2 separate regions of the Homo sapiens genome follow, and region 2 is linked to region 1. The links are contacts of gene promoters, found by promoter capture Hi-C in human tissues and cell types (Jung and others, 2019). All regions are on one chromosome and are shown on one strand. The core of a region is centred on a gene start or on the middle of the fragment in contact, and the rest is flanking DNA. Distances in the headings are between cores, read along the strand shown.

Region 1 (7,300 bases), core at 3,310-5,809:
CAGAGCATTTTGCATTGATATGTGTTGTAATTACATCAGTTCCGCCCTGGCAGTTGCTCTCTGAGAAAAATCACTCAAGGGCATACCAGTCAATACAGACCCCAGACAGGTGCGTGACAATGCAGACTCCTGGGCCCACTGATCTGAATAGCTAGAGGTGGCCTGGAATCTGTATTTTCAGATCAGCATTTTAAGACATGAGGTTAGATTTGGAATCACTGCCCACCTCCTCATTGGAATCCTTCTCCACCAGGCCCTCCTTCCATGCTGCTCCTCCTGGGTACTTTCCAGCTCCCTAGTCTTTGGGCGCCTTGCTAGTCCTTTACACCTCTACACCTTCAAGTTCCCTCCTCATTTCATAATATTTACTAGATTCCAATAATATGCCAGGCACTGAGGCAGGCCCTTTATCTCCATCTTTATAATAACTCTCTAAGGAAGGAATTCTGATTCCTGATTTACAAACGAGGAACACCTTCCCTCCCCTCCCCATCCGCTGCCTGGCTCTCTCTGGCTCCCATACCCACAGGTATACTGAACAGATTATTTGCAGTGAATGTATGTGGTAACTGCATTACTTCCACCCTGTGTCCCCTGGGTGGAAGAGCCAGGATTCAAGGACAGGCATGTCTAGTTCTAAAGCCTGTGCCCAGAGTTGATAGGTCACACTTGCCACACTTTCCTTCCTAGCACAGTGGCTGGAAAATAGCAAGTATTCAATAGATATTTGTTAGTGAGTAACTGAATGAATAAATGAAAGAAGAGTCCATACTTAAAGTTAGGACACTTCCTCCCATCTTTCCATACCCATCTCACATGCACACATATACACGCTCACACACACACTGAGGATTTAGCCACTGGGCCATTTCCTTTCCTTCCTAACTGGCCCTTCTCTGCATGTCCAATCACTGCCTTCCTAGCCCCACTTAGATGGTGACTCTTGACACTCTGCTCTAACCCATGGTTACCTCACCTCTCATGTCCCATGGTGGCTAATCCTGACAATCACCGAAGAGCCAAATTGCTCCCAAAGATTCAGCAGTAGAAGTAACCTCCTGACTTCTTTGTGACCCAAGGCAGAGAGCAGAAGCCTGGACTAGGACTGGCCCCAAGTTTCCTGGGAGTCTGAAACTCCCTTCTCCTTCTTCTCCCCTCTCTTCCCCTTCCAACAGTAACTGAGAACCAGGTCCTGAAGGCAGGAGGAGGGGATCCCTTGATTTGAGGCTTTTTTGGTGATATAGGAGAGGGTCTCTTTGGAGCTCAGAGAAAGCAGGTAGGGATGGGAAGCAGGGTTTCTAGAAGGCTCGTACAAGGGAAGATGAATTGTCAACCATTTCACCAGCTCTCCTAGAGTTATTCCTGTCTCTCAAGCCATCTGCTTATCCATTGCAATCTTGTAAACAGAGATTTACAAGATCTCTCGTAAACTCCAGCCAATATTTGTTCAAAGAATAAATAACAAAAGCTTCCATTTATAGATCACTTGCTGCATGCCAGACAACATACTATCTCATTTAATCATTTCAACAACCCTAAGAGGCCAGAATTATTATCATCATTATTTTACAAACATGGAATTAATTCAGAAACCTTAAGCAACTGCCCCAAGGTCCCACCACCACTTAAGTGATAAAGCTTAAACTGAGCTCTGGCCAGTTCCAAGTTCCCCTTTCCCTCCCATAGTGCTGTCCAAGGAACAAGGCCCAGACTAAGATGCTGTAATATTGACTCTGTAGGAATTTATTTTTTAAACATTCCAGCCTAAACCATGTAGTGTGTGTATATAAAGTGACTCTCCTGTAACTCCTAGAGTGGTTAGTTAGCATCTGAAGTGCCCTAATCAGGAATCCGCACTCCAGAAAATGGTTACATAAGCACTTCAAACAACATCAAAATATACACCCAAGGGCTTAATGTGCTTGAGGGATGCTAGAAATAATCTTTTATTGGTGAAATAAGCAGTTTTCAAAACATGGAGTTGGCCAGGAAGATTATTTGCCCTTGCATGAATGGAGTGTGAGAGCCAGAGCAGGCCAACTGCCCCATTTTCTTGAAGCAGGCTGTGTGACTGTTTTGTGCCAGCTTGCCAATACATGTATATTTGGCAGAATTTGGCCTTAACTATTTTTAATATCCCACCTGCAGGAGATTACAGAAAAGAAGACGAATGGCCTCCTCTCACCTCTCACGTCCCATGGCAGCTAATACAATCATTGAAGGACTAAATTGGCTCAGACCAGTTGACAAGTCCCCATCCCGGCCTCATCTTCTTTCACAAGAATGCCCTAGCATATCCTTCAACTCAGGCACATGATGGCTTTTCTTCCCATCTCTCTGTTCCATCCTCCATTCTCCTTTGTCAGGTCACTTGTAATAATAAGCTAATATCCAAAGAAAGGGGCTCTAGGGGTGATGGTGGGTATTATAGTCCCAGCTACCTGGGAGGCTGAGGCAGAAGGACTGCTTGAGCCTAGGAGTTCTGGGCTGCAATGAGCTATGATTGCCACTGCATTCTAGCTTAGGCAACAGAGCAAGATCTTATCTCTTAAAAGAAAACAACAACAACAACAAAAGTTGTAACTTGCCCAAGTCACATAGCTAAAAAGTGGAAGAGACATAACTGAAACTCAAGCCTCCTAAATTCCTAATGTAGGGTTCAGTCCACCTCTACCACCCTCCCACAGACTGCCAAGGGGTCCTGCTCAGAGTTGGGCAATGGTGAGATGCACTCTATGGCCCCAAACTCATTGAAAGTAACAACTGAGCTGAAAAAAATGTGGAGTCTCTTCTGCCCTCTACAGAAGTAACCAGCTATAGGGGAGAGCATGCTCCTCCCATTCCACTCTCCATGGTGCGTCTCTTTTCACTATATAACAAAGTTATATTAAATGAGTTCTGGGCCGAGGTGCGGTGGCTCATCCCTGTAATCCCAGCACTTTGGGAGGCCGAGGCAGGAGGATTTCTTGAGTCCAGGAGTTTGAGACCCCACCTCTACTAAAAAAAAAAAAAAATTTTTTTTTTTTTTTTTGCTGGGTATAGTAGCATGTGCCTATAGTCCCAGCTGTTCATGAGGCTGAGATGGGAGGATTGCTTGAGCCCAGGAGTTCAAGTTACAGTGAGCTATGATTGTGCCACTGCAATCCAGCCTGGAGAACAGAACAAGAAGAACCTATGTCCAAAAAAAAAAAAAAAAAAAAAGTGAATGAATGAATTAATGTCTTCTTAGCAAAATCCAGAGAACGTGTTTTTGGGCTTCCTTATGCAACTTCTGGAATGTTGAAGTGGATAGCCTGAGCATTGTCCCACAAAATGGGGCTAATCTATCCCAATCCCCACGAGCTATAAAGCTGTTTGCAAGTTCAGCCATTGAAGTCCCATTGGCCCAGTTAAATTCTCACGTTTGGCCTCCTGCACTACCAGCTTTCCTTAGTGTCTGGGCTCTCAAAACTTCTACGTGAGAATGGCCTGGGGTACTTTAGTTAGAGATTCAGATTCAAACCCAGGGTGGGGGTGTTCTTCATGGTGCCTGGGATGAGTCTTCCAAGGACCATTTGGAGAAACAGGCGCTGATGGTATTTTGCTTCTGTTCAGTCCTTCACTGACAGAGAGCCTGCAGGGTTGAGGAAGAAGGCTCTGTTTTGAAGTGTGGATCCCTCCCTGCAATGGTCTCTATTTGCATCTTCTTTACTCCAGGCTCACCTAGCCAAATGTTGAGTTTTCCAACCCCTCTGGGTATGAGATTGCTTTGGGCGATCTGAGATCTGCAAATGTCTGAGAACGAGGAGCACATGGGCACGCTGATGACTGCCCTGCAAACTGCCTGGCAGCCAGGGTCCTCCTGGGCCCTCCTTTAAAATAACATATACATAAGCCGGCCTGGAGGCCCAGGCGGGAAGATCACTTGAGCTCCGGAGTTCGAGTCCAGCCTGGGCAACATAGCGAGACCAGAAAATAAGCAAGTAAGTTACTCTCTGGGCTGTCGTAACTTATTTTTTCTTTTTCTCCTGCAAATTGCAACTCAGAACATTTGGTCTGCCAGACTGAAATATGGACTTCTGTTCCAAATATCCAGACGTTACAGTTCCCACAGGTGGCCAGGAGAATGCTGGAACCTTTGGCGGAGACGGTCTGGTCTTGTCCCGCAGCCCGCGAGGGTCCCCCGCTATTTGGGGTCAAGCAGATCCCCGGGGCGCTCTGGCCACCCCTTGCGGCAGCTGGTGCGGCCTCCTCGGAGAGCTCCGGGCCGGCGCCCGGGACACCCCGCCGCCCTCCCTGCCGCCCCAGGGACGAGCCCAGCGGTGCGGAGAAGTGGGAGGCTGGAGCCTGCTGAGGTCATTTCCTGTGCCTCTCCGCGAGCTGCCTGGAGAGCTGAGCCCAGCGCTCTGCCTTTAAGGAGCGGGCGGGGAGCCGAGGGGAGGAGGGCGCCCGGCGGAGCGTTGAATGGGGCGCAGCAAGGCTCGGCCGGGCTTTGTGCAGCGAGCCCGCGGGCACCCCTCCCGCTCCAGCCTCGCCCCGCCCCGCAGCCCACGACCCCTGCTGCCGGGGAGGGGAGAACCGGCGGCAGCCCGGGACTCCGGCGAGAGCGACGCAAGGTCGGCTGCGGCGGCGGCCCGAGGGCGCCCGTGTGCCCAGTGCGCGGCGGGGACGGCCGCGAGCTCGCTGGAGGTGAGCGACCCGCGCTCCCGCCGCTGTGGTGGGCTGGGGCTGCGCCGCGGCGGAGGGCGTCAGGCTGCGCGCGGGGGACGGCCCCTCGGGCCCAGAGGACGATCCGGAGCAGGTGCCTCCCTACCTGGAAGCGAGCTCCCAGCGGCGGGGAGCGCTGGAGCGCGGGTCTGGCTTGGGAAGCCGGGCGCCCCAGGGGACTCGCGCCGCGAGGCCAGGAGGAGCCTCCCCCGGGAGTACCTGGACTTGGGGATCGGTCAGATCCAGCCGCTCCTGGGAAGGGCCCTCGGAGCGGACGTGCAGGCTGCCACCTTGCTATCGGTGCTCGCTCCCTTTCACCCCTTCCCGCACCCCTCCCCATCTCACCTCAGGTTATTTCTTCTGTGATTTCTGAGTGTTGTCTTTGGGACCCTATGGCTCAGGCTCGACTCCTAGGAGCAGGTCATTCAAGCAGAAAAGAAAACAGGTTGGGCGCCGAATGACACAGAGCATTGTGTCCTAGGAGTCTTAGCGAGGACTCGGTCACCAGGAACCAGGGGCCTTAGTGGGGGTGGCAGAGGCGGTGAAGAGCCTCATCTGGAAGGAAACTCCTCTCCTTGTGGGATTTCTGCTTGCCAGGATATCTCCTCCATAGCTTTTACTATGAATCCACCTCATAAAACTCTTCCAAGACAGAGCCTTGGTTCAGGTAAAACACTTGAAAGACCATTTAAAAAATTCAGTGGGAGAATTATCAGTTCCTTCATCAAACTGTTTGGACTGTCTTCTATGTGACAGACACTGTGTATAGGGCTAGTACCATCACTGAACGCTTTATAGAACATCGGTATTAGTGTTTCTGCATATTATTGGCCCCATTTTTCCAAAGGAGGAAGCTGGGACTCTGAAAAGTTGTGATTTAGGCCAGTTGCAGTGGCTTATGCCTGTAATCCCAGCACTTTGGGAAGCCAAGGCAGGAGGAGAGCTTGATGCCAGGAGTTCAAGACCAGCCTGGGCAACATAGGGAGACCCTGTGTCTACAAATAAATAAAAATTTAAAAATTAGCTGGGTGTGGTGGTGTGGGCCTGTAGTCCCAGCTAACTTGGGAGGCTGATGATCCTGTCTGTTAAAAAAAAAATTGTTGTGATATGCCCATGGTCACATAGCTAAAAAGTGGAAGAGCCATAACTGAAACCCAAGCCTCCTAAATTCCTAACGTATGGTTCAGTCCACTTCTACCACCTTCCCATAGACTGCTGAGGGGGCCTGCTCAGAGTTGGGCAATTGTGGGGTGCAGCCTGTGGCCCCAAACTCATTGAAACTAACAACTAAGCTGAAAAAATGTGGAGCCTCTTCTGCCCTCTTCAGAAGTCACCAGCTGTAGGGGAGAGCATGTTCCTCCCATTCCTGATAGAAAAAAAAAAATCCAAAGAAATGTCTGGCAATTTAAAGTGTACATCATTTACCCCTAAATTCCATTTTCTGGGACTTTATCCTTCAGATATACTCTGATGTATATGAAATGGTGTACATCATTGAATATTCATTGCAGCATTGTTTAGCAAAAGGTTGGAAACAATCTAGATGTCCATCAATAAGGAACCCTTCAATAAGATCATGTAAAAGCCACACGATAGGATACATTAAAGCTGTTATAAAGCGTGCAGAGAAAATGTGGCAGATATATACTTTGATGTAGGAATATCTCTAAGTTATATTGTTGAGTACAGTGTGTATGGTGGGCCACGATTTTTGGGTGGGTGTGTGAATGCCACATACATATGAATGCCTGTAGATGCTCTGAATATCTCTGAGAGAACACACAGAAACCTGTAACAGTGGTTGCCGCTGGGGAGAACTATGGCTGAAGTACAGGCATGGGAAGAAGCCTTACTTTGCACTATATACCCTTTTGTTCAATGTTCTAAAATAACTTTAAAAATCATATGACCTCCTCTCCAGATCTCCAGAGTTAGATCTGGTAGTGAGCACATCTTTTTTTTTTTTTTTTTTTTTTTTTTTTGAGCCAGAGTCTCGCTCTGTTGCCCAGGCTGGAGTGCAGTGGTGCAATCTCAGCTCACTACAACCTCCGCCTCCAGGGTTCAAGCAGTTCACCTGCCTTAGCCTCCCAAGTGGCTGGGATTAACAGGCATGCGCCACCACACCTGGCTAATTTTTGTATTTTTAGTAGAGACAGGGTTTCACCATGTTGGCCAGTCTGGTTGAACTCCTGACCTCAGGTAAGCCGCCTGCCTCCACCTCCCAAAGTGCTGGGATTACAGGCTTGAGCCACCGTGCCCAGCCTCGTGAGCACATCTTTGGGCCACATCTCCTTTTATGTTCTAGATGCTATTGGTTTGCCTTTGTTTGCTGATTACAACAATAACAGTCATTTATTGAGTACTTAGTGTGCACCAGGCTTTTGTAATATCTCCTTTAATTCTCAAAAAGCCCTGCATGATGTGATATATGAAATGGCCATTTTGAAGGTTGGAAAATGGTTAAATGACGGTTTCATATGGTTCAACCAAATATTATTGTCCTGATTTTCAAATATTACTGCCCTCAATTTCAGAATGGAACTGAGTCTCAAAGAAGTTAAGCAAATGGCTTAAGGCCACAGGATTATTTAGTGCCTGAGCTCGTATTCAAACC
Region 2 (7,300 bases), core at 1,594-4,093, 1.3 Mb after region 1:
TTGACAAGAATCTATTCTTTGGGGATAAAGAATGAACTTTTTTTTTTTTTTTGAGACAGAGTCTTGCTCTGTTGCCCAGGCTGGAGTGCAGTGGCACAATCTCGGCTCACTGTAACCTCCATCTCCCGGGTTAAAACGATTCACCTGCCTCCCAAATAGCTGGGACTACAGGCACACTCCACCACGCCCGGCTAATTTTTGTATTTTTAGTAGAGACAAGGTTTCACCATATTGGCCAGGCTGGTCTCAAACTCCTGACCTCAACTGATCCGCCCACCTCGGCCTCCCAAAGTGCTGGGATTACAAGCATGAGCCACCACACCCGGCCCAGAAGAACTATTGACAGATGAAATGATATGATGTGATATACAGGATATACTTCAGAATTGTACAGGAGGTAGGGCGGTGGATGGTGGCACTGATGAACAGGTTTGGCCATGAGTTGGTGATGCTGAGACTGGGTGGGTACACGGGGTTCATCATATCACTCTGTCTCCTTCTGCATATATTTGAAATTTTCCATAATAAAATGTTTTAAGTTCAGAAAAACTAAAAATGTTTTAACTCAATGATTCTTGTCTTACTAGCACTTGCAATACAGTATTTACTTCCTACAGACGTGTTCTTGGACAAGAAATGAAGCTATGGAAAAACCTGTCAGGGAGGGCTGGAGAACAGATGGACACCCCCACCCGAGGTCAGAAAAGCAACCTACACAGCCCTCCCCACACTTATGTGGGGACCAAGAGTGGGGTCCTGCCCCTCTGGGCCTCTTGGGCTGGAAGAGTACAGGCAGAAGGACTGATGTCCATTTTGACACTGCTTTTAAGCTCAGTAAAAATTACTATAAAATTGGTTTCAATATATTTTTAAAGCACAATGAACTTTTTTTTTTATTTCCTCAGCAGAAAGCCATCATAGCAGGGTAGGCAAGCTACTCAACCTTTCTAACCTTACTTTTCACAACAGGAAAATGGGGATACTTACATATCCCCCATTTCCCAGGGCATGAGGGTGAATGAGATCAGTGTGTCGAGTGCCTAGCACAGTAAGAACTGTAACAGGGTGGGTCTAATATGTGGCTTTTTTGTGGCTGTTAAGCCTCTGAGAGGACCACAGTAGAGCCACCCCATCGTGAACACTCTGAATTTGAATGCTTTTCTTAAACATTTAAATTAAATAAAAATCAAGGCACACATCCTCTGAAACCCCTTTGGGCCAGGTACCTTGCTGGGTGTCAGCCCCTTCAAGTGTCACAGAAGCCATGGCTGTGCTCAGCGCCCCCCAGCCAGAGGAGCTGCCCAGGCTCTGGAAAGAACAGGGCAGTTGGGATAGAGCCACCACAGCTCTCTCTAGTTGAAGAATTACTTGGAAAATGAAGAGTAAGGCACTGCCCACTCTGGTCCATGGCTTTGAATGTCAAAATGCACCCCCAGAAAGCAGACCTGCAGCAGACCAACCCTTCCCAAAGATGGGGTTCAGGGTCCTCTAGACAAACAGCAGACCCTGGGCGTGGCAACATCTCCCAAAAAGGAGCTGAGTCTCAGGCAAGTGGTCCCTGAAGGCCTCTATACACCACAATGTACCTTCACTGGTGCAAAGGCCCTGCCAAATGGCTGTGCAAAAGTGGCCAGGCAAGAGATACAGTTCTAAGAAGAAATCAAGGAGCCATGGCACGCAGGACTCCCAGGAGAGGCAGGTGGCCTGCACAGCCAGTTCACGCTCCAGGCTACTGTGTGGGTGGCCTCCTGCTGACAAGCTTCAGCCAGAAGCGGGTATTTGGGACTTTGGGTGACAAGACTGGAGGAGACAAGGGAACCTAAGCAGAAGGTCATCCAGACCACCGTCAGAGTGGCCACACCAAGTCTTTGGGTTCTTGCTCTAAGTCTGCCAGCCAGATGAAGGGATGGAGGATTCACATCCAGCCACATCTTGACCCTGCTGATTCTGGAGGAGAATGGATGGAGCCCTGCACTGGCTCCACCTGCTCCCTCTTCTCCCATAAGAGGAAACAAGAAAGGAGGCTGGAGAGCCCAAGACAAAACTCAAGAATGTTCTCGAAAGGTCCTTGGGCTTTGAGACCTTCACAATGCAGTCATAAGATTATCCTGAGCTTCTGAAAGCCCCCTGGCTCCAGAGAAGAGAGCAATCTCTGGCTGCTAAACCTTGAGTGCAAAGGCTAAGGGCACGCCGGGGCCAGAATGCCTGGGTTCAAATCCTAGCTCTGCTATGTATTAGCTCTGTAACATTGGGCAAAGTACTTAACCCCTGTTTCCTCCTCTGTAAAATGAGGATAACTATGGCCCTATAGGGCAGAGTCGTTGCCTAGAACAGTAGAGAACTCAAAATTAATTTAGCAAGGGGCCCTCCTCTGCCCAGTGGGATGTGCTACTATTGACCCCATGGGGTTCTGGAAGAAATCAACATGCTACTACAATGGAAGGCATTTGAAGGAAGTGGAAAGTTTTCACAGAAAGTAGCCCAGAGACATGCACAGAGTGCTGCTCTCTGTGCAGACCAGAAACCCCAAAGATTTGTGCCTCTTTCTGTCAGAATGCAGCTTTCTGGAGCCCACCGGGCTATAGAAGCTGCATGGCGTCTGGAATGGGAATGGGTTGGCCTAGTCTTCCCCTGGAGGTATGGAGAGGAAAGGTGACACTTTCAGGCTTTGTGCAGGACAAGCAGAGAATATCACTCAAATCCAAGCTGGCTGCCCTGTGGGGGACACAGGCCCATGCCGGCAGGCCTGGGGAGAGCCACCGCTTGCTGAGGTTAGGCCAGCACCAGTGGGTGTGAGGAACCCACCTCCAGTCTCAAGAGCAGGGTTGGGCTTCCCTGGATGGGGAGGAAAGGGTTAAGCCGGCTTGGGCTCTGGAGGGAAAGCACTCGGCAGCTATAAACAGAGAGCCTAGGGAGGGAGGGGGCTGACAGGATGTGGCCAGGGCTCGAGCTGTCTGATTATTAACTTCACTTTTATTTGGAGGGGGATTTGATTCTCTGTTTTACTTCCCATCAAGGAAGTGAAAGCCCAGGTCTCAGAGGGGCCTGGTTTCAAATTGTTTTGTCACAGCTCATTTATTTTTCCTTTTAAATAAATAAACAAAACCACCTCTTTGTTTTCCCCTTAATGAGCATTCAGCAAATCATCTGTGGGTGAGGCATGAACGGGGTTTTCTGGAGTCCTTCATGGGAGAACATTTGGCTTATTATTTTAAAAGGAAAAAGCAAGGATGTCTCCTTTAGCTCCCAGTCTTCTCCAAGGCTGTGAAGGCACTTTCTCTTTTGCCTCCTCTGAAATACCGACCTAGACCAGCGAGGAGTCTGAAATCACAGCCTCAAGCTCGGCCAAGGCCCCAGGAGCTTCCTTGGTTGGACCTTGGGGCTGGACCCGCAGCCTGCCATTCCATCTGACAGGCCCTGACCCTGAGGCCACGCAGAGGAAGCACCCAGCACGGGCTCAGTGGTTTGTCTTCTTGCTTGGGCTCAGACCCATGGCTTTTGTTCCTCTGACACCCTGACATTTCTACTAAAATAACAAAGCAATTAAACACACAAAAGGATTCCATGACAGCCTTAAAAAACACCATTACATGTTCCTTTACCCAAGGTTGAAAACATTTGGGAACTTGATTTCCAACATCAAAATCCAGATCAAAACCCATTCAACAATCCCATGATCCCCTTGCAACAACCCTTTCCTGGCCAGTATCACAGGGTGCCGACCCTCACAGGGTCTCACAATTCAACAATTCAGTGAGAGAGGATGCAGCAACAAAGACTGTAACGAAAAAACAAGAGAGTCTAGGGTCTCACATCAACAATTCAGTGAAAGAGGATGCAGCAACAAAGACTGTAAGGGAAAAACAGGAGAGTCTACAGCTGAAGCTACTGCTACTCAAGGTGGGCAGAGAACGGAAGAGACGGATTCTGTTGGAAACTAAGAGGGGAAATCCAGGAAGGCTTCCTGGTGGAGCTGATCTTTAAGCTGAACCTTGAAGGACTGGTAAGATGAACGGATGTTCTGGAACCTGAGAAACACCCAAGTACCAGAGAGACAGCATCCATGTGTGAACTACTCTAGACAGAGGCAACAGGCGTGGTGGGGCCTGGGGCTCCTCAGAATGGCACCTCAAGTCCCCATGGTGGTCAGGGACTGGAATGCATCGGCCGCCTGCAGCCAGCTCCGCGGGGCCAGTCCCTGACCTCTGGCTCGGAGATTGGTGTGCCCGGTGAAGGAGTTGCCCAAGCATCTTAGGCAACCAGATACTACGCCTGGCCTTGGACCCTGCCACTTGCCTGCCCCACAAAAACCTGCTGACCGCTGTGACCTACTTTAACGCCCTCTGACTTCCCGCTCTTTGAATATGGGGCAAAAAGAAGAAGGGCGACTGGCACCATCCAATTCACTTGAGGCTCGGAGGCTCAGGCCTGCCTTCCTGGCGGCTACTGGGGTGGCGTTTCCCAGCACCCCCGGGAAGCTACCAAGGTCCAGGGCTCTCCTGGGCTTCTGCGACGCCCACGCACTCCTGCGGCCGAGCTTCGCGGTCGGGCTCTCCCGTCGCCACCCCGGCGTCTGCTCAGCCGCGAGCGAGAACCAAGCCGGGCCGGGCGCGGGGCCCGGGCGAGGCCGCCAAGATGGCCGACGCGCTCGGCAGCGCGCGGATCACGCGGGAAGGCTGCCCTTGGCCTCCCGGGAAACAGCCAAGGTTCCGCCGCCCTCCTTGGCGCTCTGCCCCGGCCGGCCTGCCGGGATCTCCTCCCCGGCGCGGTCTGCGGCTCCCGGGGCCTCGCAAACCTTCCAGGCCCGAGGCCATCCAGACGTGCACACCAGGCCCGGCCCGCGAGGGGAGACACAGGGGCCGGGGCTGCGGCGGCTGAGCTCCCTGGGCGGCTCGGAACGCAAGGGGCCGGCGAGCCGACGCTGCTGCAGGAGGCTGCGGCGTGGGGCGAGGTTCTCGCTACGGCTTCGTTCCCGTCCTCCCGCGGCCGCTCTCCCCCGGAAGCCCTCGGAGGCAGCACGATGGACGTGGCCACACTGCCCTCCAGTGGCCAGCTCGCCGAACAACACGTCTGGGCCCCTTTTGGGGGTCTGGGTGACGTGTCCACCCTCTCTCTGCCCTTTGCTACATTTGAAGGTGGGGTTTGCTCATCCATGGTTCCTCTTACAGGTCACCAAAGCTGCCACAGTGCACACTCACCCAACAGCAGGGGATTTGCCGCCTTCGGTGGTTCTCAAACTTCAGTGTGCACAGGAATCCCCCCTTGGACAGTTCTTTCAAACCCGGATTGCTGGGTCCCCCAACCAAGTCAGAGAATTTGCATTTCTAACAAATCCTCAGGCGATGCTGAGCTGCTGGTCCGCTGGTCCTGGAGCCACACTTAGAGAACCACTGGCTCGGCTCACTCTTTCTCTCACGGGGTTTCTGTCATCTACTCATTTAATACAGAATATGTCCTGCTAGCCCCGGAGGACGAGTGGACGGAACAACTTTCTCACCCCTCGCGGAGCTTAGTCTAACGGAGGAGACAGACTTGTTTCAACAAATCACCTAGAAAGAAATATAAGATTCCATTTGAAAAGACTTTCAAATTCCTATGAAGGAAAAGAATCAGGTGCTCAGAGAACATATATAAATGGGGCACTCATTTAGATTTGGGATGGGAAGGTTCTTGAGGAAGACCTCTCTGAGGAAACCCTTAAGCTGAGGCCAGGAGGAGGGATGAGGTCCTGAGGGGAATGGGGAGGGGACTGGAACTGGCAGGAGGAGCAGGTAAGATGCAGACCCTGTCTGTAGAAGCAGAGACTGGTAGGGGGCCAGGCAGGGGGTCACAGCCTCCTAGGCCCATGCCTCTGGTACCCACAGAGCTGCCTCCTCAGAAGGGCAGCATCCAGGGGAGAAGAGGGCCTGCCTGCATGCTCAGATCTTAGCTACCCCCGTCAGTGCCAAGAAGAATGCTCCACCTTGAGGAACCCCAGCCAGGTGCCCACAGCCCACAAACTTCTCTTTGCCTGAGCAGATTTATGTAGGTACCTTCTGTAAGGCCTGAAGGGCAGTCACATCTGATGGAACCAGGTCTGCTGAGTAATGATGAACAGACATGATGTTACCATCTACCCATCAATGCCCTCAGTGTGCCATCTCCTCCCTCCTGCAGTCCAGGATCCAGCTGTTTCTCCAATGAGCATTTTTAAGCACCTACTATGTGCTCTGCACTAGGATCACTGCAATGCTCTGTGGGGCATGGCACAAAGAGGCCAGCCTGCCCTAGGAGGCGCCAAGCACCCTGGAGGGCAGGTAGGTGGAGTACACCCTCCCCGCCCCAGTCTCAGCTCCAGCCTGCTGTGTGCACCCCCACCCCACCCAAACATCCCTGGGGTCACTCATTGCAGGTGGGCCAGGCTGACAAATGGCAGCCAGGAATTCTAGTGTTCTAATGATTCTTACTTTGTATCAATGCCAGCTTGATGGCAGGGGCCAGGATGACCACCAACCACTGCCACTTTATCCCTTGTGCTGACAAGGAGGTATCATCCCATTAATCCTGTTACCTTGCTCAGTCCCTTCTGTCCCGTTTTCACATCTGAAAAATGTGGGGTGCGGATGAGTTGTGTTAGATGATCTCCAAGGGTTTCTGATCCATGCCTAGCCCACCAGTGCACTGTTGGAGAGATGGACGAGAACAGCCCTGCCCAATGACCCCATGACCCTAGCATTATGCAAAGCAAGGCCTTTGTCGTTAACAGACTCCAGGTTAGGGGAAGGGAGCGGGGAGCAGCTGAAAAACTATGTGCAGCTTTAGAATCAATCAAATCAATCCAACTCTATTCCTGACTCTGTGATAGCCAGTAAGTGGTTTAACTTCTCTGAGCCTGTTTCCTCATCTGAGAAATGGGAATAGCATGGTACCTACCTCACTGGGCTGTTCTGAAGATTACTGATAATAGCTACCACTTAGCAAGTGCTTGATCCGTGCCAGGCAGCACACTAGAGGCTTCCCATCCACTCCATGAGGTCATGTGCAGAAGTACTGGTCCCATGCCAGCAAGGAGTAGGGCTCCATCACAGTTGTTAACGCATGACACCCCTACTGCTCTGCACACATATATTTATGTAGTCCTACGGCCCTACTGCTCTGCACACATATATTTATGTAGTCCTACGGCCCTACTGCTCTGCACACATATATTTATGTAGTCCTACGGCCCTACTGCTCTGCACACATATATTTATGTAGTCCTACGGCCCTACTGCTCTGCACACATATATTTATGTAGTCCTACGGCCCTACTGCTCTGCAC

What was found. The method cuts DNA at HindIII sites, captures the fragments that hold promoters and counts their contacts. A contact is called where the count stands out against the background at its distance.
Region 2: a fragment that was not itself captured here is called in contact with the fragment with the promoter of PLEKHH1 in region 1 in 1 of the 25 tissues and cell types used here (hippocampus).

What each region holds. Positions count from the first base shown.
Region 1 is chr14:67,528,731-67,536,030 of GRCh38, forward strand. PLEKHH1 (pleckstrin homology, MyTH4 and FERM domain containing H1) reads left to right here and starts at 4,560. Exons shown (of 29, transcript NM_020715.3): 1 at 4,560-4,668. It also overlaps a transcript of GPHN not described here and a transcript of TMEM229B not described here. RefSeq lists a silencer at 4,184-4,653. The HindIII fragment of the contact is 40,466 bases long and covers 1-7,300 here.
Region 2 is chr14:68,811,820-68,819,119 of GRCh38, forward strand. No RefSeq gene overlaps it. Among named protein-coding and RNA genes, the nearest start is that of ZFP36L1, 22 kb to the left of the region's middle. RefSeq lists enhancers at 3,204-3,323, 3,929-4,148, 4,229-4,458, 4,475-5,214, 5,089-5,138 and 1 more and a silencer at 4,599-4,988. The HindIII fragment of the contact is 6,181 bases long and covers 1-5,934 here.